3 separate regions of the Homo sapiens genome follow, and all the other regions are linked to region 3. The links are contacts of gene promoters, found by promoter capture Hi-C in human tissues and cell types (Jung and others, 2019). All regions are on one chromosome and are shown on one strand. Each heading gives the region's core, a stretch centred on a gene start or on the middle of the fragment in contact. The rest is flanking DNA. Distances are from core to core; before and after follow the strand shown. Region 1 overlaps MVB12B (multivesicular body subunit 12B). Region 2 has its middle 88 kb from the start of LMX1B-DT. Region 3 holds the start of ZBTB43 (zinc finger and BTB domain containing 43).

What was found. The method cuts DNA at HindIII sites, captures the fragments that hold promoters and counts their contacts. A contact is called where the count stands out against the background at its distance.
Region 1: a fragment that was not itself captured here is called in contact with the fragment with the promoter of ZBTB43 in region 3 in 1 of the 25 tissues and cell types used here (H1 embryonic stem cells).
Region 2: a contact is called between a fragment that was not itself captured here and the fragment with the promoter of ZBTB43 in region 3, in 3 of the 25 tissues and cell types used here (IMR-90 fibroblasts, dorsolateral prefrontal cortex and liver).

Annotation. Positions count from the first base shown.
Region 1 is chr9:126,330,408-126,334,255 of GRCh38, reverse strand. All of the region lies in intron 1 of MVB12B (multivesicular body subunit 12B), which reads right to left. Among named protein-coding and RNA genes, the nearest start is that of MVB12B, 5.5 kb to the right of the region's middle. The HindIII fragment of the contact is 4,706 bases long and covers 1-3,848 here.
Region 2 is chr9:126,524,057-126,528,453 of GRCh38, reverse strand. No RefSeq gene overlaps it. Among named protein-coding and RNA genes, the nearest start is that of LMX1B-DT, 88 kb to the left of the region's middle. The HindIII fragment of the contact is 6,412 bases long and covers 1-4,397 here.
Region 3 is chr9:126,803,610-126,807,461 of GRCh38, reverse strand. ZBTB43 (zinc finger and BTB domain containing 43) reads right to left here and starts at 2,422. Exons shown (of 3, transcript NM_014007.4): 1 at 2,330-2,422. RefSeq lists enhancers at 1,248-1,397, 1,548-1,657, 2,068-2,127, 2,195-2,696 and a silencer at 2,758-2,807. The HindIII fragment of the contact is 16,594 bases long and covers 1-3,852 here.

The sequences.
Region 1 (3,848 bases), core at 590-3,089, 470 kb after region 3:
ACCTTGCCATCTTCCCCCTGAAGCATCCTCCTACATTCCCGGTCTCTAAGAGGGCCTGGCGCGTGAACAGTGAGTCCACAGATGACTACGGAGCCACTTGGGCTAAGCACTGAGGCTACAGTAATGAGACGGAAAGTCCACATTCTGGAGTGGGAGTTATCCAACTTTAGCATGTGCAAAAATCACCAGAAGAGGTCGTTAAAACGGACATTCCTGAACCCCACCCCCTGAGATACTGATGCAGTAGGCCTGAGCTGGTCTAAGAACATGCATTTGTAACAGCTCCCAGCTGACACTAAAACAGCTGGTCTACAGTCCAAAATTTAAGTACAAGAGAGCAGGTATTCATCAGGTATTTGATGAACGAATGGATGGATGGATGGATGGATGGATGGATGGATGGATGGATGGAATGAACCTAAAGGTAATCTTCCATGGAGAAAAGCCTCAGAATCAGCCCTCCAGTCTCCCCCTCCTTCCTCTTGACAGTTCACCCAAGGGCACCAGGTTCCTCCCCTGCAGATACCCACCCCACCATTTAAAACCAGGGTCACACACGGGCATGGTGGCTCACGCCTGTAATCCCAGCACTCTGAGGCCAAGGTGGGCAGATCACTTGAGGTCAGGAGTTTGAGACCAGCCTGGCCAACATGGCAAAACCGCATCTCTACTAAAAATACAAAAATTAGCTGGGTGTGGTGGTGGTGCCTGTAATCCCAGCTACTCGAGAGGGTGAGGCACAAGAATCGCTTAAACCCAGGAGGTGGAGGTTGCAGTGAGCTGAGATGGTGCCACTGCACTCCAGGCTGGGTGACAGAGCCAGACCTCATCTCAAAAAAATAAATAAGTAAATAAATAAAACCAGGGTCATGGCCAGGCGCAGTGGCTCACGCCTGTAATCCCAGCACCTTGGGAGTCCGAGGCGGACAGATCACAAGGTCAGGAGTTCGAGACCAGCCTGGCCCATATGGTGAAATCCTGTCTTTACTAAAAATACAAAAATTAGCCAGGCATGGTGGCACGCACCTGTAGTCCCACCTACTCGGGAGGCTGAGGCAGAAGAATCACTTGAACCTGGGTGGCGGAGGTTGCAGTGAGCCAAGATTGCACCACTGCACTCTAGCCTGGGTGACAGAGTGAGAGTCTGTCTCAAAAAAAAACAAAACAAAACACCAGGGTCACATCTTCCATTCCCCTCAAACTTTCTCCAATTTCCCAGTCAGACAGGTGCCACCACTCAGAATCCTGACATCATGCAAGCACGTAGTCTTAGCACACGTATGTGCACACATGCACTCGTGCACACATACACATACACACACAGCCTTTCCTCTCAGAAGGCTAGAACATGCTTTCCCTAGCAGACCGTAAGTTACTCAAAGGTGTGTTATGTCCACCACAATGCCCAGCTTATGGTGGGTGCTCAATAAATGGATTATGAATGAATGGGGGAAGGATAAACAAACAAAATTCCTATCCTCTCAAAATTGCCAAGTTTCACTGGATTAAGGAGGGCACATAAAGGGGAGAGGGCACATAAAGGGGTGGGGCCACATAAAGGGGCAGGGGCACATAAAGGGGCGGGGGAACAGCAGAGCTGTCAGACCCCTTCCAGTGAAAGCCCGGGGTCTGGGGTCACTGATTCCTCCATACAGGACACACACCATGACCCCAGGGGTGAGCCACTTACAGAGGACGGGGGAAGGGACTGCAGCACTTCCAGGGAGTTCCAGATTTAGATCTAACTCAGTGCAGCCAGGCTGGATGTGGGCCTGTCAGGGGCCAGTGGGTGCCCAGGCTGGCTGCAGGAAGAATGCCCCGGAGAGCTTGTAGAAGCACAGCTTTCCCATTCCCTATCCTCAGGTTCTCATTTAATTGGTTCAGGCTGGGACTGAGACTGGAGAGTGCACAGCCAAGGAGAAGCTCCACAGTGCTGGGTGATAGAGCAATGAATAAGACATGGAACTCACAGGCTGTGGGAAATATCCCAAGAGAAAGGGACTGCAAAGGAGGGGACTCTTCCTTCTGCCTGGTGACGCAGGGAAAGGTGAGCAAAGAACTGGCCTCCCTGAAAGACGGGGGTGTGTGAAGTGGTGAAAGTCTTGCAAGCAGATGACACAGCCTCAACAAAGGCACCGTGGTGTGAACACACAGGGACTGCTCGGGGAACTGCAAGGAGCAGATGGGCTCTGAAACAAGCTTATAAAATGCTTAAGAAAACAAATAAACAAAACACAATCAAACTGAACTAAAAAACCTGTCTGCACTTCTCTGCTGTTTCTGAGATCTAAGCAATGATGTTGAGCTACAGGAAGGGGCACCCCAGTGGTCTAATGGAAGAGATTCCCAGGCCTTCCGTTCATACTTCCCCACCTGCAACTGAACATTTCTCCAACCAACGCCCCTTCCTTCAGACCCCCATGGGGCCTCCTTATGCTATTAGCTCTAAGGGGGGAAAGTCAGGCAGAGCAGAGGAATGGGATGGGTGCCCCCTTTGGAGTCCAAGGGACCCGAGCTTGAATTCCAGCTCTGACACTTACTGTACAACCTTAGGCAAGTTAAACTAAACTGGGCCTGAGTTTCCATCCCTATAAAACCGGAATAGCAAATAATATTGTTTCTACAGGGTTATAATGTGTAGAAAGCATCAAGAATTTGCAGCAAAAGGCAATCAACAGAGTAAAAAGGCAACCTATGGAATGGGAGGAAATATTTGCAAATCATGTATCTGATGAGGAGTTAATATGTGGATCTATAAAAAACTCCTACAAATCAACAACAAAAAAACAAATTCCTTAATTTAAAAATGGGCAAAGGACTTGAATAACAAGTCTTTCCAAAGACAATATACGAATAGCCAACCAGCACCCAAAAAGATGCTCAACATCACTTGCCACTAGGGAAATGCAAATCCAAATGACATCTCACCTTATACTCATTACGATGGCTACTACCAAAAACAAACAAACATACAAACAAAATAACTGTTCGCAAGCATGTGAAGAGATTGGAAACTCTGGCACACTGCTGGTGGGAATGTAAAATGGCACAGCCACTATGTTATGGAAAACAGTGTGGTGGTTCCGCAGAAAATTATAAATAGAATTACCATATGATCCAGCAATTCCACTTCTGGGTATCTACACAAAAGAATTTAAATCGGGGTCTCAAAGAGAATTGTAGACCCATGTTCAGAGCAACATTATTCACAATAGCCAAAAGACAGAAGCAACCCAAGCATCCATCTATGGATGAATGAACAAAATATGGTCCACATATTCAATGGAGTATTATTCAGCCTTAAAAAGGAAGGAAATTCTGAAATATGCTACAACATGATGAACCTTGAGGACAGTATGCTAAACTAAACAAGCCAGTCACAAAAAGACAAATACTGTATGATCCACTAGGATCACACAGTTTGACTACCTAGGGTAGTCAAACTCACAGAAACACAAAGCAGAATGGTGGTTGCCAGGGGTCAGGAAAGGGGGAAATGCAAAGTTGTTTTATGAGCACAGCGTTTCGGTTTTGCAAGATGAAAAGTTCTGGAGCTTAGTTGCACCACAGTGTGAATGTGCATAATGCCACCGATCTGTGCACTTAAAGATGAGTAGGATGGTCAATTTTATGTTACGTGTATTTAACACTTTTTTAGAAAGCATCAAGAACTGTAGGTCTCTAATTTCAGTAAGAAGAAGTATAACCCAAGGTGTCTGTTAAGACTGCAGATTCCAGGTCCCGTTCCCCAGAGATTCTGACTCAATAAAGTCTGAGTATGAGGTCCTAGAATCTGCATTTTCATCAACACCACAGGCATATTTAGTGCATTACAAACTCATTTATTT
Region 2 (4,397 bases), core at 817-3,316, 280 kb after region 3:
AGGCCCGGGCGGGCCTGCGTTGCGTGCATTTGGGGCATGGATCGGTTTGGGGTAGCATCCCCGAAATGGGTCTGTGTCTCTGGACAGTAGAACGCCTCTCAACCTAAGGCCCTGGCAGCGTCCGGGGTGTGGAGGAATGTGTTACTGCCTTGCTTATAACTCCTGCCGTGGGTAAGAAACATTCCATAGGGTTGGGGGTTGGGGGAGGCTGCTAGTCGGGATTTGGAGAAGAATCTCCGCTCAGACCCTGCTGTATCCAACAGAGGCATCCGGAAACCGGAGTTTGCTGTGGGGGAATAGTTTGCATTCTGTCCTCATGATGGGGAGAATTGGAGTTCAGAGGAAGGGATCCGTGGAAGTGATTGCACCATTCCCATCTTTTGGTTAAGCTGGGTGTCTGGTGGCGGGGGGCAGTGTCTGGGGCCTCCTCTGAGGACATGAAGGGGAGGTCTCCTGGGGCAGGTTTTGTCTGGTCTAGGACATCTAGACATCTAGGTACCCAGTGGGCAGAAGAGGGATCATCTCAAACATGCAGAGTGCCTGGGTACTGAGAGGGGTTAAAGGATAGTTGGAAAAGACAGAGAACAGAAAAAGACAGGGAGAGCCAAAAAGAAATACTAAGAGGAAGAAGAGAGACCCACGGAGATACTGTCATACCCTCTCACGTGCGCACACACGCGCAGAGACAGTGAGATTGCCTTTGAAGGCAGAGGGACAAGGCCTAATTGTCCCAGGGATGTGCACGGCGGCCTGGCTTTTCATCATTCCCAGAACTCTCTAATGAGGCTGTGGCCTCTCCTGGTGGGAACTTTGCTCCCTGAAATCAGCTTTGATAAAGGGGACAGACCGTCTGGGACGAGTTACTGGGTTTTCCTCTTTTCCTTTGAACCCTGTGGTGGTTTTGCTCTTTCATGGCAAACAGAGCAGGGACAAAGTCGCTGGCCTCTGTCCTCGGGCAATAGAGACCAGCCCACCTCCTGGGGCACCCAGGCGTGTGGGGCAGGGAGATGGCAGGCCCTGTGGGGGTGTCACTGGCCCAGGTCACTTTGCAGGGCTTGATATCCAGACCCACTTGCCCGTCACGATTGTTCTGCTGGTCCCCCAGTAGAAGCAAAACCTTGAATGCATCTCAGCAAATCGCAGCAGCCAGGAGGTCCCTCGCATCATGAGGGCACACAGGCTAACAACACTGATGACAAGAACACTGGCTGCTCACGGAGCACTCACTCCGCGTCAGGCTCTGAGCCAAGTATTTGACAAATGCTATTCATGGCAGTAGCAGCCCTGTGCCCCTTTTCCAGAAGAGCAAACAGAGGCTCCGAGAACTAGGTGGCTCACTGATCAGAGGCAAAATCGGACCGAATCTGTCATCCCTGGGCCCTGCTCTCAACCACTGGCCTTCCTGAAGGTGGGGGAGCCTTAGCTGGCCCCCTGGACATGGCAGTTTTCTAGCTGCACCATCCCTCTCTCGTTTCTCTTACCCATGACTGGGCTCTCTGTGAGGTCACAGCCATAAAGTCAGCAAGGCCTCAGCTCTAAGGTCTCTGGACACCTATCCCTACCTCACTCTCTATGCCCTGGAAGGATGCAGTGTCCAGAGGTCTCCCTGAGCCCCGGCTGTCCTGGGCAGCAGCTCTGGAAGGAATGGGGGGTGTGGAGTTAGCCACTCTGGGGCAGGAGGAGAGGAAAGGGCCTGGCTACCCCAGGAGGACCACCAGCCCGGTGGGACTTGTCTTTGATCTCCGATGATTAAAACAAACACCCTCTCCGGTGCTTCCTCCTTGTCCGAGGAGGCCTTCCTTCCTGGCCGGCAGACATTGAACGGCCAGGGAGAGGCTGCCTGGTCCCAGTCCCAGGGTCCTCATTTGGAAGTTGTCCTAGGGTCAAAGGCAGCTCCAGAATGCCCCGGCTCTGGCCTGCTCTCCATCTTCTGACCCCAGTTGCCTTCCTCCTGCCGTGATCCCAGCCTCCAGCTCCTGAGGCTTTTCTGCCAGGCTCCTCAGCCTCCTCCCGGCTACAGCTCGCTCATCCCCAGCTGCAGCCACCCGGGTCAGGCGGCAGGGGTGGCCAGGGTCCCATTCACTGCAGGCCATTCACCTCTTATCTCTAAAGTTGGCAGGCTATGAGGAATGACCTGAAATTTGTTCTAACTTGTAAAAGAGAGAACATTGGCTGTAAGCTTTAATTTACTCCGAGTGCCCGCTGCGTGTCAGGCCCTGGGTTGGTGCTGGGGAGACAGCAAGAGTGAAAGAGGTGTGGTCCTGCATTCATGGAAGGGTTTCTGGTTCTTGTTTTTTTTTTTTTTTTTCTTTTGAGAGAGCGTCTCACTCTCTCACCCAGGCTGGAGTATAGTGTCGTGGTTTTGGCTCACTGCAACCTCTGCCTCCCGTGTTCAAGCGATTCTCCTGCCTCAGCCTCCTGAGTAGCTGGGACTACAGGCACATGCCACCACACCTGGCTAATTTTTGCGTTTTTAGTAGAGATGGGGTTTCACCATATTGGTCAGGCTGGTCTCGAACTCCTGAGCTCCAGTGATTCACCCACCTCGGCCTCCTAAAGTGCTGGGATTACTGGCATAACCCACCTCACCCAGCCGGTTTCTGGTTCTTATGAGCAATGGATTCTGTGCCACACACTTCACAGCTGTTTGGGACACCACAGAGCACAGCTAGGCCATGAAGAGAGAGGGCTGGGGAGAGACCTTCTTGTTCAGTGTCTGGGGACAGCCCTCCTGTTTCTCTCTAGGGATGGCGTGTGGTGGGGAAGCCACCCTGGAGCAGCTTCATGCTCCCGTCCGAAAGAGCTCCTTCAGCAGCTCGCGGCTGAGCCACACGACGCCTCTGCTGGGAGGCAGGAAGTTGCATATTCCTGCCCGTGTACCCGGCAGAACGTTCTTTCCACGTCCTACCATTGACAAATCCTCTTGGACTTCCTGGTCACTTCATGATGACAGCGTGCAGAGGGAGAGCAGGTAATCAAAGGACGGCCATGATGAGGGCGAGGGGTTTTTCCTCCCAAATTTGTATGATGAAAATATCCAAACATACAGAAGAGTTGAAGGAAGAACAAGGAACACTCTCAGAGCCCATCCTAGAGCTGACGCGTAACCATGTCACACGCTTGCTTTATCTGTCTGTGTAGATACATCTCTAGAGCTATGTATTTTTTGCCGTAAGTTTGAAAGTAAGTTCCAGGCATCATCCCTAAATACTTTCGTGTGCTTTTCTAAGAATGAGGATATTCTCTAACCACAACACCATTATCATCTGAAGAAAATTAACAGTGATTTGAGACGGAGGGATTTTGGGAATTAGTCAAGGCGTAAGCGTTGAGACCTTCGTTAGATGAGGAGGTACTGTGTTGTATTACTGTTCGCAAAGCTTCCTTTGAGCTTGGTCCCCCTGCGGGGCAGCTGGAGAAAGATGGAATGACACTCCCATTCCAAAGTTTGAGATCTCCAGGGGAGCAGAGCACCACGCTAGTAGGGTAGGTGCTTGGGATGTGCACAGGGAACACGTCCCAGGCCAGAGGCCACCCCTGGGTCCCCCTTCATGCTCCTGGGCATAGAGGCTCCTGTTTTCCCAGTTCTGCCCCGTCCAGAGGAGAGGGGGGTGGAGCTTGGCAGGCAGATTGGATCTGGGCTGAATCTCTGTGAGACCTGGGCTGATTGGGCTTCCCCGCGACCAAGTCCTCAGCTCCCCTTGGGGTCACGGAAGCTAAGCTTGGGTGGGGAGATGTGGGGCCTTCCCAGGTGCTGAGCAACCCTTTTCTTTACCCTGTGGAGGGGACCTGGAGACAGGGACAGTGGAGGGGTTCAAGTGCCAAAATCTCCCCATCTCGACCCAGGGCTGAGATGGGTCCCTGGATCTTCCAGCTATGATGTCCCCAAGAATCTGCAAAATCTCCCACGACTCCTTCTGATGGGGGGTGTGCGTTGGGGCGTGCCCAGGTGAGAGCTGCAGATGGAGGCTGTGGGGTGACTGCATTTATCTGTGGGTGTGACCGAGCATCTCACAGGTCCAGGAGGGTGGTCCTCATATGTGCACAGAGACTGGAGGGGCGAGGGTGCATTTTGGTGCATGTATGGATGTCCCAAGAGCAGATCTGGGGTGTTCTCATGTCAGAATGTGGGTCTGTGCTCTGTGTAATGTTAGAAATAGGGCTTTGGGAACAGAATATTATTCAGCCTTAAAAAGGGGCAAAATTACAACACATGCTACAACACGGTGAACCTGGAGGATGTTATACTAAGTGAAATAAGCCAGTTACAAAAAGACAATGCAGAATGAATCCAGTTATATGAGGCATCTAGAGAAGTCAAGTTTATAGAGGCAGAAAATGGAATGGAGATTGCCAAGGGCTGGGGGACGGAGGAGTGGGGCGTTCTTACGTAGTGG
Region 3 (3,852 bases), core at 1,173-3,672:
ATGTTCTTGATGACACAAAGGATGACACTCTAGAAAAAATATGGACACACTCTGAATTGAAAAGTGCACAGAAGAGTAGAACTTGGAATGTTAAGTTTAACGAACACTTTAACCAATGTGTTCTTATTTTTCCTTTGTATATATGCATTAGAATAGGCATTGATACCATGTTTTAGTGTCTAAGTCTAAAAGTGTTTTCAATAATAAAAAGTCTAAACGATAAGAGCGTATTAAGCCATAGTTCAATTAGCAGGGTTTCTCCCTTCCTTGGTGGTACATGAAATAACAGCATCTAGGATTCAATTAAATAAAGTAGTAATTCAGTTGTGATATCTTATTAGAAAGCTTGATAAACTACCTTAAAGGCAAATAGACAGCTTAAATAAGAGATTTTAAAAAACAAAAAAACCACAAAGGCATCCCCCATAACGAAACTCAAGAAATAACACATAATTTTGCATTATAATAAAAGGGCTATTTTTCAACCTTATGAGTTTTCTTCCTGTGAAAAGCATAATTATCAAGTATCCTACTTATGAGCACATTCTTGCACTGATTCCAAGAAAGGCAGAGGGAGGAGAGCCAGGGCAGAAAGTAAGTAGAAAGCCTGAGAAAGATTTTAACCAAATTCATTTAACTAAACTTTTCTAAGAACCTCAGCTGTACCCACTGCTGTAAAGAGAGTAGGAATCAATAAACACAGGTTCAACTGTGTTCCTAACAACTACAGAATGAATTTTGAAAAATTACATGTAAAAGGAGCTTATTGGTTTCAGGAGTCTCCAATGAATACTGTTTTTGTTTTTTGTATTGTATAAAATATACATAAAACTTTAAGACTTAACAATTTTAAGTAATTTTAAGAGTCCAATTCAGTGAAGTACATTCACAATGTTGTGCAATCATCACAACCCATTTCCAGACCTTATTCATCATCCCCCAAAACTCTGTTCTGTAACATTAAGCAATAACTCCTCTCCCCAGCCCCTGGTAAACTATTCTACTTTCCGTCTCTTAATTGGTTTATTCTAGGTACTTCATTTAAGTGCTCTCAAACAACATTTGTCCTTTTGTGTGTGGTTTATTTCTCCCGTGGTGCTTTTATAAAGCAAATAATAAATTCCCAATTATTAGGTTTCTTATAATTTAACTGAAAATGCTGACACAATCTCTGAACTAAGCATGCAGTTATCCCAGAAACCCTGCTACTGTTCCAGTAGCCCCAAAGACCTCAGTCTGATCCTTTCTTAGCCTGTAGACAGGCCTGTTAAACAGCTGTAACTCAAAGAGCAGGCTCCAGAGATCCCTGGAGACCATCCTGTGGTGAGTGGATAGAGCGAAGGCATTTGGGAAGCTGTGCAGGCCTGAGAAACCACAGGCGAGAAAAGGAGAGGACTCATCAAGCTGCTCTGGCCCTAAAATGGGCCTCCTGTCTCCCTGACAGGCTCTCCTGCACTCTGACACTTATGTTGGGCGACACCTGTCAGAGTTGAGGCCAAACTGCGGTCGAGTCACTGAGAGTGTCACCAGTGCAGGGAACTTCACGGGGTCATGAGTCACCTTCCATGGCTCAGAGGTCTGGGCAGCCCTGCCCCACCCAAACTCAGGAAAGAGAGACAAGAGGCAAAAACAAAGTTGGCAGAAAGAGAGAAACAGACAGATGGCCAAAAAGCCAGACTGACAGGCCCTGAATTAGAGTAAGGGCTGAGTGGCAGAGACAGGGTGAACAGACACAGAAGCAAGGTGGAGACAGATATAAAACAGGATCCAGATACCCCGACAAAGACAAAGTGGAGAGAAATATCAGGTTGACAGCGACCTAGCTGAAAGACAAAAAGGGCAGGTTACAACAGGTGACAGAGACAGCAACAGGGGATGCTGAATGTTTTACTTAAACAGAAGATCAGCTAAGTCCAGGCGCAGTCTTTCTCCCAGCTCGGCTCGTCAGGCCTCAGGCATTGGTGGCTCGAACCCGAGGTCGTCAAGCCGCGCCCACCCTACGCCCCGAAAGGCCAGCGGACGGACGGGGGCGGGATCTCTAAGCGCTGTGGCCGGCGGAGCTCCGCCGCCGCGAGGGTGACCTTGGGCGAGAAGCTGCCCCAAAGGCCTCGGTATCGCGGTCTGCGCGCCGTGTGGGCAGAAGACTGCGGGATTCGGAGCTGGAGCGCCGGGACCCCAACCTCCCGCGCGGGGCTTTGGTATGCCGGTCCACGGAATGGGCCTGGCGGGGCCAGCGGCGCGAGCGTCGGGGCCTGCTGAGGAGCCCTTAACTCCCCCACCGACTTCTCCTCCCCTACCCTTGCCGCCCGTGGTCCTGGCCACGCAGTACCTGCCAAGGGCTCAGCGCTCACATCCCCCGCCCAAGATATCCTCTCTGCCGCCGGCGCAGGCCTGTTGTAGCCTCAGCTGCCGCAACAGATTCAGCCTGTGCCTTCAGCCCCCGGAAACGCTTCCCGGTCCCGCCCCCCGAAACTGACAGTGCTTCCGGGGGTGCGTCAGAGAGAAAGCGGAGTGCGCATGCGGGACTTACCGTCTGAGCTGGGCGTCGGGAGAGAGCGCGGAGGTAGCGGGCGCCTGCGCAGTACACTCTGGAGCGGGTCAATTTTAGGGACTGACTACGCTGTTGAAAATAGGGGAGCAGATACTGAGTTCTAAACCTTCTTGAAACCTTGGCATAGGCCAGGCGCGGTAGCCCACGTCTGTAATCCCTGCACTTTGGGAGGCCGAGAGGGGATGATCGCTTGAGGCTAGGAGTTCGAGACCATCCTGGCCAACATGGTGAAACCCTGTCTCTACAAAACATACAAAAATTAGCTGAGCGTGGTTGCGCGCGCCTGTAATCCCAGCTACTTGGGAAGCTGAGACAGGAGAATTGCCTGAACCCGTGAGGCAGAGGTTGCAGTGAGCCGAGATCACGCCGCTGCACTCCAGCCTGAGCACAGAGCAAGACTCTTAAACAACAACAACAACAACAACAAAACAAACAAAAACACCTTGACCTTCTCCGTCTCTTCTCTAAACAAACGAACGAAAACCTTGACCTCAGTATGCCTGGCGGAGATTATCTCCAAATCCGTTTCTGCCTTCACAGCACCCATCTCGCTTTTTGGCATGTAGTAGATGCTCAGTAAATGGTCAATGAAAGGACCAGTGCCTTTCCGTGGGCTGCATTGTGCTGGGCACTGGGGTCACACAGATGGTGGGACAGAAACGATCTCTCTAGCCTCCAATTCTCCCACTCCCTCCCAAAACCTCCATACCTCTTCTCGCCCCTTTCTTCCCCACTGCCCCCCCATGTTAGTGTAGAAGAGAGATAGGTCTTTAGCGGTGGGACTCTTACCTTTGGACCCGTTTACAGACCAAGTGCCCTCTTTGTAGAAGAACTAATTTATACCTGAAATCCAGGCAGCTGAAGCGATGTGGTCATAATGCCTTCTGGATTTAGGGTGGATGTTCTCGTGGGGCCTGACATGCCTGTTTGATATTGTCTGTCTCAGTTTAAGCTGATTGGTTTCCCAGCTGTTATGCCTGTCTTGCTTGTTGTTGGGCCCTAGGACACAGGAGTGTAGCTTTCCTAGAGAATTCTACCAAAAAAATTTTTTTTTCTAGAAAACAAAATGAAAGAAAACAAATATGGAAGCACAGAAATGGGAGTGGATGCAGAACAGCTTGTCAAAGATTCTACTTCAAACATGTATGCTCCAGCTCCCCCGCCTTGTGGTTTTGTTTTGTTTTGTTTTGTTTTTTTTTGGAGACGAATTCTTGCTCTGTTGCCCAGGCTGGAATGCAGTGGCACAATCTTGGCTCACTGCAACCTCCGCCTCCCAGGTTCAAACGATTCTCCTGCCTCAG